Linked DNA regions of Homo sapiens: region 2 is linked to region 1. Evidence: promoter capture Hi-C in 16 types of primary human blood cells and fetal thymus (Javierre and others, 2016). All regions are on one chromosome and are shown on one strand. Each heading gives the region's core, a stretch centred on a gene start or on the middle of the fragment in contact. The rest is flanking DNA. Distances are from core to core; before and after follow the strand shown.

Region 1 (7,661 bases), core at 2,795-5,294:
CCTGCCCTTCCAGCCATCTGCCCCTTAGTCAACCTGCCTCCTCCCCTACTCCCACAGAGTAGAAGAGCCCAAGTGCACCCCAGGTCACCTCTTGGCCACAGATGAGGACAGGCTGACCTGGAAGAGGCCGCTCCTCACTCACCCCACCAATCCCTGCTTTGCTTCCAACCATATCAGCCCAAACCAAGCTGCTCATTTAGCCCAGATCAATTGTCTGAGACTGAGCCAGCCAGTGGTGCACTCACCGAGAGGCTGTGCTTCAGTGTCTCAGGGTTCACTAGGAGGGGTGCAGGCCTGGCCTAAGGGGGATGGCAGAGATGGAGCATGGCAGGCAAACCATGCCACACCCAGTGTCCATAGGGGATACCCAGTGGCCTAGACAGATAACCCTTCCCCTTCTGAACCACAGTTCTCCCTGACTGGGGGATCATAGACTCCCACTGTGTCCGAACTGGAAGGACAGCAGACATCATCTTGTCCTATCCCCTTTATGTGACAGTAGGTGACACGGAGGCCCAGAGAAGACATGGGATGTGCCTAAGGGCACACTGGGAATTAGTGACAGAGCAATAGGATATCCAGGTGTTCTTTTGATTACAGTAAGCTCTTAAGGCCACTGATGTTTTGGTCACTCATCCCCGTACCCCAGCAGAGCTCATGGGAAAAAGGACAGTTGCCCCACTTTGGAGCACCTCGTGAGTCTTCACTCTATACCTCTTTCTTGGACTCCAGGAACCCAATTCCTCAAATAGGCAGAAGGAGTCAAAGTCCTAATCCATTTTCTACCAAAGGATTTTTGATTCTGAGCCCTTTGTTTTTCCCAGCAGAAAGGGCGAGGGTGGGATCTGGTCAGGAGTCAGAGACAAAGCCACGGGTGGGACTGGAGCAGGGTAGACAAGATTCCCCATGAGGGAGAAGTTGGTGACCCACAGGCTGATTGGCAGCAGAGTCCATGGTTTTCAATATGTAGTAGCCATGCAAGAAGAGGCAAGGGAAGGGGTCAGAAACACAGGGGTGATTTGGCCAACCCACAGAGATGGCCTCCCAGACAGGACATGTGTGTATCTATTTGTCAAGTGAAAATGTGATTCTGGACATACAAGCAGCACCTGCCTGCTGGCTCCCACTTTCACCTCCAAGAATGGAGAAGCCCTCTTGCCTGTCTCCCCAGGTACCCTGGCACCCCTCCCCCACCTTTCTCTGGCTATGTTGTCCCTTCCCTGACCTCTAGCCTCCTCCTCAGAAGTGGGGAGCTGGAAACCAGGGTGGGGGCTCCTCCACATGTCCTGCTGTGCTTCCCCCGTCCCACCTCCACCCCACACAGCTTTGGCTTCAAGAAGCAGAGAGGAGGAGAGGGAGAGAGGACTAGCTCATCATGCCTCCACCATTTCTGGGCTGGCTCTGCAGCTGTGGGAGTTGGTGGGAGGACTCCAGCTACAGCCTTACCCTGGTCTGTGACCCCAGGAAGAAGAACTGAAGGCTCCTTAGAGACCCGAAACCAACACAGCTGCCTTAAGTACCATGCAACAGACACATAAGCAAAGGGACACCCATGTGGCTCTTGTGTGCATTTGGTGTACCATGTGTGCCCACATGTGACAAGCCATGCCTCAAGCCCAGCCCCAGTGGTACCCAGAGGCTTCCCGTTCCCAGTGGTCCACGCTCTAGCCCCCACCCCTACTCAAGGACCTTGTTCTCAGGGCCAGGAGCCATCCAGGGATCAGCCCTGGCAAAGAAACCTTGGCCAACTGGCCCAGCCTGGGATTGCCACCTGTCTCCCAGCCGGGCAGGACAAGCATAAGAGGGTGTTTGCGAGAGAAAGGCCTCCAGGACAGAGAGGGGGCAAAGGAGAGAGAGGGACTCGCTGGAAAGGGCAAGAGGCCAAGGCAAGGGATGTGGGAAAGCAGTAAGTGTGGACAGACAGAAGGCCAGAACTGAGGGCTCTTCTCCCCAGGAAGTCCCCACCTTTGCCTCTGAGTGAGAGCACATCCTATCCCCAGAGGACAGAGGCAGCCAGAACGGTCACCAGCTTGGGGAAGTCATCACCTGCCCTCGACAGCAAAGCCTCCTCTTCCTCTCTCCCCACCCTAGGAGCTGCAGAGCCGGATAACCAGACAGGCCCTCCGCCTTGCGTGCCAGGGACCTGGCTCTGCCAGCCCAGCCTCCATTTTGCTGCTTCTCCCACAGATGCTCCTTCCATTTTCTAAGCTGGCAGTTTAGGCTGGGAGTGGAAGCCGGAGTTGTGCCCAGCACCCAGGGGCTCCCAAGCTGTGCCAAGTCAGGGCTGGGGGGCTAAGCCCTCTCACATCTGGAGGTACCCAAGGGGGACATGCCCCACTGGGGCCAGTCTCTGCACCAGGGCAGCTGCCCCTTGCCGGCTCCAGGCACCATGCCTGCTCTAGAGCGAGGAGGCTTGCTTCAGTTCCTTCAAATCTCCCCCCGCCCCCCGCCACCCCACCCCGGCACACACACTACAGAGCTGCTTGGACAAAAGAGTCCGTCCTTCTCAGCAGCCTCTCAGCCTTGCTTGGGACATGTCTCTCGCCTCCTTCCTCTCCCCTCCCTTGCCTGTCAAGCGCCTCTCACCAGAGACAACACATACAAACACACACTCACACACACACACCAGGCACACGCGTGCACACTCTTGCAGCCACATGCTCACACACATATACATGTAGCCACACACACAAACACAGCCATCCCTGCAGCCTCCTCTACAGAGACCTCTCCACATTCAGAGTGACATCTCCACACATCCATGTGCACATTCACACACAAAGGGACTGGGACGGAGAGGGACTCATGGCATCAAGGGATGAAGCTCAGCGAGCCGGGCACATGGGCTCCTCCACACGGATTCACGGCAGCTCCATTGCCTTCCTCCACACACCCCAACATACATACACACACATATGTCCCCCCTACGCAGAGCACCATGCCCCCTCCCCTCCCCTCCGGTGGAGACACACACCACACACAGCCCCCGCAGAACCTCCCGCCCCCTGCCAGACACAGAGACATTGCCAAACCCCCACACTGAGACAAACCCAATTCCCCCACACAGGAAAATGTGCCCCTCCGCCATGCCCTTACCCCCTGACACACGGCTCCTCCCAGTCTTCTAATGGAGACCCCCAAACAGACACACACAGGGAACCACACATTTCCCACCGCCTCTCTTTGCCCAGCTGCAATGCTAGGGCTCGGGGTCCACAGGCTTGGAGCCCCAGCGACCCCTACTGCATCCCAGGCCTCTAGGCCCCCACTCTCCAGCCCTCCTGGGTTGCCCCACCGCTCCCCCCTCCGCTGGTCCATACCTGCTCATACCAGTCCCGGTTGGTACAGGTGCACTCTGGCCACCAGCTGGGGCCGCTGCCGTTGAGTTTGGGGGTGCTCTTGCCCGGGACTGGCTTAGGAGGCACCGGCCCCACATCCCGGCCGGTGGGGATGAGCTTGGCCTTGGTGCGAGGGGTGGGGGTGGCCCCCGCCTGCGAGGGCAAGGTCTGCGAGCTGTAGCCCCCATAACCCGCGCTGGCGCCGTTGCCCCCACCTGGCCCGTAAGGGTCGGGGACTTGCCAGTCGCCGTAGCCCGGAGGCTCGAGGCGCCGCAGGGCGGCCAGGCGGGTCACCTCATAGCACTCAGGGCACTTACAGCAGTGCTGGTGCTTGTGCATGGCACTGCCCCCCGCGGCTCGGACCCCCCAGCCCACGCCGGATTCCACGCCGCCGCCACCGCCGCCACCACCGCCGCCGCCGCCGCCGGGCTCCCTGGCACACTCACACTGCTCGGACCAAGAAGGGGGGGGCACCCGTGGGGGCGCCCGGGCTGAGCGGGGCCTGGGGCCGGGCGGGCGTCCCGGGGCCTCGGCCCCCACGCTGCCCCGCACCCACGGCTCCCCCTCCAGCACTGGCGGCTCCGTGTCGCCCGTCGTGGCTTCTGGGCCGAGGCCCAGCGGCAAAGAAGAAGCGGGAGCTCAAGCAGAGAATGGGTGCTGTGAGGACCGCTTCTGCTCTGGTCCCCAGGATGGATCTGAGTGGAGTCAAGAGCATCTCTCCCTGGCTCCCTTCTCAGTTGATTCCAGCCAATCAGCGCGCAGAGGCAGGCAGCGGCAGCGGCAGCGGCGGCGGCAGGAATGCTAAACAGCGGCTACTTAAAGGAACAGAGGCAGCGGCGCCCCCAGGCTCAGCCCCAGCTCCCCCAATCTCTAGGGAACTGTTGGCTCTAAGGGCGGGGGCAGAGGACGTGGGCCACCAGAAAGCTCAGGCACCCGATCTTGTGCCCTTATATCGCCAGTTTTAGCCTGTCCTCTGCCCACTCCACCCCACCCCACTTCCAAGAGGGAGTTGCAGGGAGATGTTCAATGGGTCCCCAGGCTTGCTCTGAGCTGGGGCCACCAGAAGTAAAGACGAGGTAGCAGGATGGACAGAAAGGACGTTGGAGCAGGGTGAGGGAGGTGCTTTCTCTTACAGGGGACCAAAGAAGAAGGCAGCATATGAGGCCCGCTGTCCTGTCAATGCCTCCTACACAAGACTATTGTTCTCTCAGTCTCTAGGCCCTGAAATTACTGTGACCTCACACTTGACCTTCTACCATCACCAGTAAAGAACTCAACCCTAGAACAGGGATTAACAGAAAGCTCTAAGTCCTTGTCCCTGGCCCACAAACCCCTATCTCCTCCACTCCACCCCTGCATGGTTATGATGGGGGAAGGAACTTCAGGATATCAAGATGAAAGTCCAGGACAGGTGAAAAGGTAAGAAGGGATTTGAAGAGAGAGAAACCCTTCTATGGGTCTGGAATAGAGCTTAGGAATACTTGTCCAAGGACATCTCCTTACCCTCTCCTGGCTCAGCTTGTCGGGGGAATGGAGGAAGGATGACATACAAGAAAGACTATCTTTTTTGCAGTTCTTGTTTTGTTTTTAGCTACCAATTATTGGGTCTTTACAAAGTCCTAAGTGCATAACACGCAAACCCAAATCCTACCAAGCTGATGCTATTATTATCTTCATTTTACCAATGAGAAATTGAGGCTCAAAGATGTTAACACAGCTAGGTAACACAGCTGGAAGTGACAGAATCAGGATGCAAATCCTGATTATTTGACTCCAGAGTCCACGCTGTGAACCACTCTAGTACGACAGGTCTATTCTAAGTTCTCCTGCAGAATTTACATCTCAGTTCAATTCAGCAAATATTCATTGAGCACCTGCTCTGTGCAAGACCTTGACCTAGGTATTAGGGATACAGAGGTTCTTTTTTTTTTTTTTTTTTTTTTTTGAGATGGATTCTCATTCTGTCACCCAGGCTGGAGTGCAGTGGCGTGATCTCAGCTCACTGCAACCTCAGCTTCCCAGGTTCAAACGATTCTCCTGCCTCTCAGTCTCCCTAGTAGCTAGGACTACAGGCTCCTGCCACCACGCCCGGCTAATTTTTGTATTTTCTTAGTAGAGATGGGGTTTCATCACGTTGGCCAGGCTGGTCTCGAACTCCCGACGTCAAGTGATCCACCCACCTTGGCCTCCCAAAGTGCTGGGATTGCAGGTGTGATCCACTGTGCCCGGCCCTCAGAGATTCATTCTTAATTCAACAAATATGCGTGGAACACTTGCTGTGTGCCAGACACTGTTGTAGGATTTGGGGATATAGCAGGAAACAAAATAAAACAGAACAAACAGAACAAATCCCTGCCCTTGGGGAGCTTACCTCCTAGTGAGAGGACACAGACAAAAATAAACACAATAAATAAGTGAATTATGTAGTACAGTAGGTCCTCATTTAACATCATTGGTAGGTCCTTGGCAACTGGGACTAAGTGAAACAACGTATAACAAAACCAATTTTACCACAGGCTAATTAATATAAACAAGAGCTAAGTTCCTACAGCATATTTCTGGTCACAAAACATCACCCAGCTTCCAAATAAAGACCCAAAACACTTCTGATATTGAACATTGAAATAAATATGAGCTATGCATACATATAGAAAGATTAATGAAAACAAGTAAATAATTACCTAACCTTTGGTGAACCAGTGAGTGACAGCAGTGGAAGTGGTGGTGGGTTGAATCAAGGAATAAATGTATGCAAAGCGAAAATTGTAAGGAGCACCTCCCTACCACCATGCAGTTCAAAAGCAAACAATCACGAATATGGTGAGCTCGATGAGCACTTTCTTACCTCATAGTTTATTGTGCATTTGTATGATTATCAACTACTTGACAAATTTTTATTTTACAGTACTTTGTATCCATCCATCCATCCATCCATCCATCCATTCATTCATTTTTCAATCTGCTTATTTCAGTTCAGGGTCAAGGGTGGCCACAGCCTATCACAGCAGCTCAGGGTACAGGGCAGGAACCAATCCTGGACAGGATGCCATTCCATCACAGGGTGCGCTCACATACACACCCACACTCACTCACACTGGGACAATTTAGACACGCCAATTCACCTAACGTGCACTGGGATGTGGGAGGAAGCGCAGTACCCTGGAATACCCGAGAAAACCCACACATACATGGGGAGAGTGTGCAAACTCCACACAGACAGTGGCTCTGGCCAGGAATCGTTTTAGTTGTTTTTTTTTCCCCCTCATCAATGTTAAAACAAAATGATGTTGAAGAAAACAACATTATTCAGCATATACACCTGCTGTGTATATGGTGATAAGTGCCATGGAAAAAAATAAAAAGTAGAGCACAGTAAGATGGATTGGGAATGGTAGGGGAGGATACCAAGTTGTGATTTTTTTTTCAAGTTTTTTGCCCCCACAGTTTAATATGAAAGTTTTCAAACATACAGAAAAATTCAAAGAATTTTACAGTGAACATCCAATTACCCACTGCCTAGGATTCTCATTAACATTTTGCTATGCTTGCTTTATCATATATCTATCCTCCACATATCCTCTCCAACAGTTTTAAAAATGAAAATTTACAAACATACAAAAATATTGGAAGAGTAGTACAATGGACACCACTGTATGCCTTCCTTATCAAGTCGACAATTTGACTTGTTTTGATTGTTATATTTGCTCTGTCTATGTATCTATGTATCTATCCATCTATCTATATTTTTTAAAGAGTAGGTCTTGCTCACTCACTCAGGTTAGAGTGCAGTGGCGTGATCATGGCTCACTGCAACCTCAAACTCCCGGGCTCAAGCAATCCTCCCACCTCAGCCTCACAAGTGGCTGGGACCACAGGTGTGTGCCACCATGCCCAGTTAATGCTCTATCTATCTATCTATCTATCTATCTATCTATCTATCCCTTTTTCTGAACCATTTACATGTAAGTTTCATTACATGTAAATGGTTCCATTATTCATCTGTAAGTTTTGATAACTTCCTTTAGCCATTCTTTGTCTGCTGGCAACAAATTATCTTAGCTTTCCTTTGTCTGAGAATGTCTTGATTTCCCCCTCATTCCTGAAGGATATTTTCACCAGATATAGCATGCTGGAGTGCAGTGGTGTGACCATAGTTCACTGCAGCCTTGAAACTCCTGGCCTCAAAGTGATCCTCCTGCCTCAGTCTCCCAAGCAGGCTCCTCAGTAGGTGGGACTATAGGCGCACACCACTCCTGGTTAATTTTTTTATTTTTAGTAGAGACGAGGTCTCATTATGTTGCCCAGGCTGGTCTCAAACTCCTG
Region 2 (7,661 bases), core at 3,576-6,075, 950 kb after region 1:
AGGATTTGGCAGGAGCCAAATCATGAAGGGCCCTGGGTGCCATGCTAAGTAGTTTGGACTTTATCCCAAGGGCACTAGGAGCCATGGAACAGGCCGAAAGGTTTTCAGCAGGAGGTGACACGATCAGACTTGTATTTTTAGAAGATTGATTTGACTGCAGCATGGAGACTGGATTGGAGGGAGTGAGACGGCAGGCAGGGAAACTAGTTGGGAGACTGGTTAGTAGTCAGGTGAGAGGTGTGGAGGGCTGAACAAAGGCAGCAGCAGTGGAGACAGAGAAAATAAATGCACATGGGAGGGAAATGAAAGAAGTAGAATTGAAAGGAGCTAGGAGGCAGGGCTAGAAAGAGGATGAAACCAAAGAGTTCCAGTTAGTGACACTGGCACGACTGCCCCTGCCCACCTAGGAACTGTCTTTCCTGAGCCATTCTTTGTTTAGTCCTTGGAGGGTTCAGTGTTCTAACAAAGAAAGCTAATCGCTTACAGATACCTAGTTCGGAGCTGATTGGCAGGGCCACAGTGATTGACACCCTTGACTGCCAATGAAAGAGCAGCCTGCCAGGTCTAGGCTATCAGCTCTGAGCACCTCTGGAGCTTTCTGTGAGAAGTCACTCAGGCAAGACTCCCTCCCTCTCCCCAAGCACACACAGGGTGAAAAGTGTCTCACAAAGGTCCATTTATCACAGGAGCACAATATAACAATAACTTACCCAGACAGTTCCCGCTGCACACAAAGAAGAAGTGCTAGCAAACCAACAGTCAGAAGAGGCTCTCATTCTCTAACTTCAGATGACCCAAGAAATTGGGATGGGGGAAGGGAAGGCATTGGCCTTAATCGGCCCCTGGAGCAGAATAGCCAAGGTGGGGAGGGGAACTGGAGTGGCCCGCTGTTCCCCCAGAGCTGGTGGGCCCTGGCCAGTCCTTCTTCTCAGCCCTTTCTTTCCACCTGCTCCCGGGTTAGTGGAGGCTAAAGCCAGGGGATGGAGGCGGGTCACTCCTGAGGGGGCCCAGACTGAACAAGAAGAGCAATAGAGTGCCCTCAAACCAGGCAGAGGGGAAGACAACTTGAGGGAGAGGGAGAAGGGGAAGGTTTCTTGCAGTGAAATGCTGACAATTAGGAAGAAGACAAAGTGGGAGCTGTTTAAAGTGACCAGTGTGGTTGCATCAGGAGCTTTCTGTTAAGCTCAGATCTTAAAAGGTCATGGGGGAAAAAGATGGAAAGAAGGGCATGTAATTAAGGGTGAATCTGTAAGAAGAGTGTCAGGATGGCTAAAGCGCAGCTTGAGCTGACGCTTGTCAGGATCTGCCTGGATCCTGCCTTCATAGTTGGAGTAATTTCTCTCCTATTTGCAGGCTATCCCTGTCCTAAGACAGGAAGGATTGAAGTAACCTGGGTATGCACACTGAAACTCAGTATCAAGTTGTCCCTTCACCACTGATCTGAGTCCGATCTCAAGTTTCCATCGAGTCTCTACCTCATTCCCCACTTCTGATCCCTAACCTTCTGTCTCATGTCCTGTATCTGAGTCCCTCAGTCAGAAACCCTGCCTGCCTCTACCAGTGCTCTGTCAAGGACTAGACCCAGTCATGCTCTTTCAGTTCACCATCCAGGAAGGAAGTCCTGACCCTGCGCCCTAACCCAGTGGCTGAGAGGTCTGGTGGCCCACTGACAGACTCCTCTAATCCCGACTGCCCGCTTGTATTTCTACATATCTTCTTCTTCTGGATTCCTGTAGTCATGTTTGCCCTCCATTTGGAACCCCAGTTTTTCTGTCATGTAGGGTTACTATATTAATTAGGAATATTTTTGGCTGCAAATACCAGACAACTCTACAACAGTGGCTTAAACAGACAGAGGTTTACTTGTCTCATTCAACAAAAATTTCCTTGATGGAAGGCCCAGATAGGACTGATGTGGCAGTTCAACGATGCCATCAAGACCCTGGTTTTTCATCTCCACCATCTTAAGGTAGGCTTTCATCCACTTGCTTTTTGCCTCATGGTCACAACATGGCTGCTACAGCTCTAAGCCTCATGTCTGCATTCTAGAGAAGAAGAAGGGAAAGAGCTAGGGGGCAAGAAGGCTAAGGACAAAGGATCTTCTAGAGGGGCTTTACATTTTTATTCCAAATGGAACGCCCTCTCCAGTGACATCCACCTACATCTCTGACTAGAACCATGTCATAAGGACATTCCTAGCTGCAAAGGAAGCTGGGAAATCCAGTACTTTTAGCTGGGCACACTGCTGCCCTGAACAAAATTGGGATTCTATAAGTAAGGAAGAAGAGAAAAATCATTATTAGGCAGGCAGTGAGTAGCAACTGCCATGAACCCTAACCACCAATTTCTTGCCTGAACTAAACCCCTAAGACACTGGGCTTTTGGCTACTAGACTTGACTTTCTCCTAGCAACTACAGCCGGGTTTATTCCTCTAGCACAGGATAGAAGAGCTCTGCCTGGTTTAACAACAGCACATGTGAAAAAGACCTTGATTTGATTGTAAAGTCAATGTGAGCCAACAGAGTGATGGTGCTGCCAACAGAGCTAATTAGATTTTAGGCTGCATTAATATAAGTAGAGAACCAGAACAAGAGAAGAGATGGTTCTGCCCTTCCCTACACTTGTCATGTCCTACCTGGAGCACTGTGCTCCATTCTGAACAACCCATTTAAGCTAGGATACAATGACAAGATGCAAGATGTCCAAAGGTAAGTCGCTGGGCTAGTGCACTAGTGGTCACGTCATACGAGGAACATTTGAAGGCCCCGAGCTTATTTCGTCTAGAGGTAAACAGACCCGGGAAAGAAACTGCATAGGGGAAGGATCAAAAGTAGTTATTCAGGTTAGGGTTCAGAGCCAGGGAGATTCCAGCAAGCAGGGTAGTATCAAGTGATTGAGTGAATGAGAGAGACATTGAGTGAATTGGGAGAGAGTCAATAACAATAAAAATGAACAGTTACATAGTGCTTAACATGCACCAGGTACTATTCTAAGCATTTACATATTTTAAGCCACTTAACCCTCTATGACAACAATTATGTGGGGTAGATCTACCGTTGTCTCTATTTTCTAGACACTGAGGTACAGACAGGTTAAGTCACTTGTCTAAGGTCATGCAGTTGGCAAGTGGCGAAGGGAGAATTTGAGTATATGCAGTCTGGTTCCGGAGTTCATGACTACTTGATCTCTTCTCAGAATAAACTTAGTGATTCTGGGTAATTGCCAAGATTCAAACACCAAATAACATTTTCAACTTCTTGATTGTTTGGCAGCTGTGGGTGAGCTGGGATAGATGGGGCTGGGACATGGACTTAAACCCAGGAGATTCCTCCTAGATATTTTAATATCTTCTCAGTCAAAACCAAGAGAAGTAAATGTTCACATTTTAACCCACCTTGGGCCCTTTCACTTTTACTTTCTAATATGAGGAATCTGACCTTATCCCTAAGTTGACAGAGTGGCCTCACCCTAGGATCCATCCCACTCTAGGCCACAAAGGTACCTAGATGGCTACCTCTAGGCTCACCACTACTCCAGAGCTTGGAGTGTACAGACCCTGCAGCTACTGAAACCAAATGAAGGATTTGGTTTCTGTCTCACTGGCTTCCCCACCCCTGACTGCAAGGCCCGCCATCATCCTAGGGGACTTCAGTATACAAATTAAAATTCAGCCATCACCTGGGCTTCCCGGTTCCTAAACTGCCCCATCTCTTCCACTCTACCTCAGCCACCCACCTCCATTGTCACAAACGGGACCTGCTCCACTATAAATCACCAATCTCAATCAAGCCTTCAACATTGCTTCACAATCCAAACAGGTACTAAATTTCTTTAGTACTTTTCATTCTCCAGGATGACTATTTCAAATCTTCTCCATTCTTTTCTTAAACCTCCAACCCCTGTGTCCACCCTCTCACTCTTAGCCAATAATCTTATGTCTTAGTCCATTTTGTGTTGCTCTAACAGAATACCTGAGAATGGCCTCAAGTGATCCTCCTGCCTAGGCCTCCCAAAGTTCTGGAATTGCAGGTGTGAGCCACCATGCCTGGCCCACACTGGCCACCTTTGAGTTCCAAATGCCATGTCTTTTTGGCCACAGGAGCTTTGCACATGCTGTTTCTTTTGCCTGAAACACTCTCTTTACTCCCTACCTCTAGCCACTTTGCCTGGCTAATCCTACTTAATACTCAGATTCCAGTTCCAGCATCACTTCCTCAGGGAAGATTTCCTTGACTAGTTCCTGCAGGCTAGGTCAGGTTCCCTTGTTAGATCCCTTGTAGAACTGTCTTCCTTTCTTCATAGCACTTATCTTAGATGCATTTACACCCTTATTTGCGTGATTCCTTGGTTAATCACTGTCTCTCCCACTACACTCCAGAATCCTTCAGAACAGGAACCATGTCTGTTTTTGTTCCTCCTTGTTTCTCTAGCTGCAAACACAATGCCTAGCACATAGATGCTCCGTATTTAGAATTAATTAATTAATAAACATTTCAAGTGAGAAAGTGAGACCATCCCAATTCCATTAGAGGAGTATGGCTTTACCTTAATGAATCTGCTAGCATGACTGTGTTTTAATACCAAACATGACCCACACCATGTAGAAACAGAAGGTTATTCTCTCATGTCTGCCTCCAGAGATAATGAATTCCTCTCAATGAAGGTATCTTCAAGCAGATATCTAAGGAGAAGTTGAATGACTGCTTATGGTGATATAGCCACAAGATGATCTCTAAAGCTTTTGACATCCAAGGTTTTGTGATTCTATGATTTGATGCATAGAGAGGGTGGCTTGAGCAAAGGGAATTCAGACACCCTCTAGGATGGAAAAGCCATGGAGAAAAGCACTTTAGGATTTTAGTCACATTGAGATTACCTCATTCATTTCTTTCCTTCCCACAAAAGCTTCTCTTCTAGTTTATACTTTGGAGGACCATTTTTTCCTATGTTAAAGATTGCCATAGGTAGAGGGTCTTTAATTTTCAAAGCTCTCTCAGTTTCAAGATTCACTGGAAATCTTGTTTCCAATTTTCATTTTTCCTGCTTAAATTGAAAGCTATTTCTTATGCCTCTCATAGCAAGGATGAAAGTACAGTGGTTCAGGTATATCCAAAGAGTTTTTAATAAAGGTTATTGTTTTGGGCTGAATGCAAGTCCCCACACTTCACAGTACAGAGAATTAAGATGCCAACTCTGATGAAATCAGACCCTTGTTGTACATGTGTGGGTAACTCTTGATATTTGGATGTTAAAGGTCTCATAGGGCTACAGTGTTGTCAGACTGTGGGGCCTATAAAGGTCATAGCCAAACCCCTCAACGTAGGGGGTTGGCACTCACTTGAACTGTCAGTTAATAAATGGTATCAATCAACAACTGAGTCCTAAGGATCACCTGGAAAAGAAATGCATTCTTCAGAGAGGGAACCAGAGCTGAGGGGGAGGACTCCAAGAAGACTGTGACGCAGGTTTCTGTAGTACTGGCCAGGGAGGGAACCCAGCCCTCAAACACTTGCCCCCTGAGGTTGGAGGTAAGAGGTGCCTACCCTGTGAGCACAGGTCAGGAATGGAGAGGGAAGGAGCCAGCCTTCTGCTGCTTTGGAGCCTGAATATAGTACAGACAGAATGTGTGAGTCTCAGAGAAAACTTGGCTGTGGTTGGCTCTGAGACATGTGCTGTGAAAGCTGGACTGTTTGGGTTTCTGGCATGTCCCTCTCCTTCTCCCAGACTGCTTCAGAAAGTTCTTTGTGCAGTTGCTTCCTGCTCACTCTACTGTGCCCAGGGAAAGCCAAGGATAGGCTTTGTGCCTCTCTCAGGCCAGAGTCTTAAAAAGAGAGTGACACATCGCTGGGGCATGTAGTATGTGGCAGCAGGGGCAAAAAGAAAGAGGCCAAGCCCTACCATGGAGTTCACTGTGGGGGTACTGGGAATGAGAGCTTCTCTCCTGCATGCCTCCTCCCCAAGATATTCGTTGCTTCAACCTGGGAGCCCCCAGGTTCTGTTTTACCAAGGAAGTGATGATGGTGAGATCAGACGGAGACCTAGGGCCCTAAGGGGAAAGGAGAAATTCAAAGGGTCAGAGTTGGGGGAAAACTAGAGCTGCTTCTTCCATAGATTCTCTCTTCAGTGCTATGAGTTTCTCCTTTCAAGGGAAGCAGCTTCTTTCTTCACTGAGTACTTTTTAATGGGTGAACATGAGACATACCTGTCAAGATAGAGGTAGATTTTCCATCTGGTAATGGGTAGATGGGACCCCTCTAGCACTGCTCTTCAGATCCTCTCTGGAGTCTGCTTCCCAGGCAGGGCAAGGCCTTGGCCAAAAGGCTCCTGGTCCTGGATCTGGTGCAGATTGCTTGTCAAGGCCAGAAAGCCCCTCTCTGTAGCTTCCTGCCTCATCACATTGGAGGCAACTGCCTCCTGAAAGTGGTGAAAGTTAGGGCCAGGGCGTAAGGAAGGAGCTCCATCCTCCACAACTCAGTGTGAAGTCACGGTCAGACTCATCTCCTGTTATCAGTAGAGCTAAGTATAGAAGGAAGCTGAGTAGAGGTCTTGAGGCAGTAAATCTGGGCAGAGCACTAGAGTCCAAGTCACCTTGGACACTGACCCATGTGTGACCTGGGACTTTGGGCCCAAGGAAAACCTGGGTTTCCCTGGCTTGGGGGCTTCTCCAACAACCTGCTCCTCTACTGCCTCTGTGTTGGAGGGAGGGCAATACTCTGGCATATGCCCTCCACAAAGCCAAAGCACTTCAGCTTTGTGGCTGTCCTGTCTGCTGGAGGATCTGTGGTTCTCCTCCTGTGGCTTGGGTCCTGGTCCAGTGATCTCGCAGTTGCCTCAATCAGCTCCCACTCTCTTCATAAATCAGCACTTTGGTATTTTAAAACAGCATTAACTTTGGAATCAGGCAGGCCTGGGTTTACAACCCAGCCTAGCACTTCTGAGCACAAAGAATCAGAGCCAGTTTTCCTATCAGTTAAAAAAACGGGGAGAAATAGTTACTTCGTAAGGTTGTTGTGCAGAAAAAATGTCATGATGACCTTAAAGTGTCTTATATATGGTCCTCAGTACATATTAGACCTCCCTGAACTGTTCTTTGTTGGAGAGAATAAGCCCTCCCTTTTTCTTCTCTCATGATGTCTTTCTATTCTTTTATGCTGCCTGAGACACATTCACCAGCAGGTTATTAAGTCTGGTTATCTGCTGGGAGGAAACTCCCAGAGGGGAAGATTTCTATGTATAGCAAAGGCTTGTGGGTTGGGTGCTCCTCCTCATTCCCCAGGGTGAACATCCTCTGAAATACAGATTCCTCATGCAGAGAAAAGAGGCCTGCATGCCCTTGCTTCAGGGATGGGTTGGGTGAAATGTGGGTGGGGGGATTAGAGGGAGATGATCTCCCTCCAAGGAGTGCAGAGGAAAGAAGCCTAGCAGCTTCCAGTGGCCATCGTAGAAGGGATCAGGAGATAGAGCCCAACTTCCAACTATCTGGAAACTTTGGAAGGTGGATCCTTTGTCACTTTACATTTATTCCACTGTAACAATTCACCAAACCTAGTATGTGCAATATGTTGCTTTTGTTACTTCTGTCCTGTTTTGCCTTCATGATGGCCAGTAGAGCCCTTTACCTGAGGGTTATCTTCAGAATTATCTTTGGGGGAGGGCCAGG

What was found. The method cuts DNA at HindIII sites, captures the fragments that hold promoters and counts their contacts. A CHiCAGO score of 5 or more calls a contact.
Region 2: a contact is called between a fragment that was not itself captured here and the fragment with the promoter of DLG3 in region 1, in 1 of 17 cell types (naive CD4 T cells). The highest score is 6.1, in naive CD4 T cells.

What each region holds. Positions count from the first base shown.
Region 1 is chrX:70,441,218-70,448,878 of GRCh38, reverse strand. DLG3 (discs large MAGUK scaffold protein 3) reads right to left here and starts at 4,044. Exons shown (of 19, transcript NM_021120.4): 1 at 3,321-4,044. The coding sequence starts at 3,677. RefSeq lists an enhancer at 3,740-4,526. The HindIII fragment of the contact is 21,076 bases long and covers 1-7,661 here.
Region 2 is chrX:69,494,475-69,502,135 of GRCh38, reverse strand. No RefSeq gene overlaps it. Among named protein-coding and RNA genes, the nearest start is that of NALF2, 6.0 kb to the left of the region's middle. The HindIII fragment of the contact is 167 bases long and covers 4,742-4,908 here.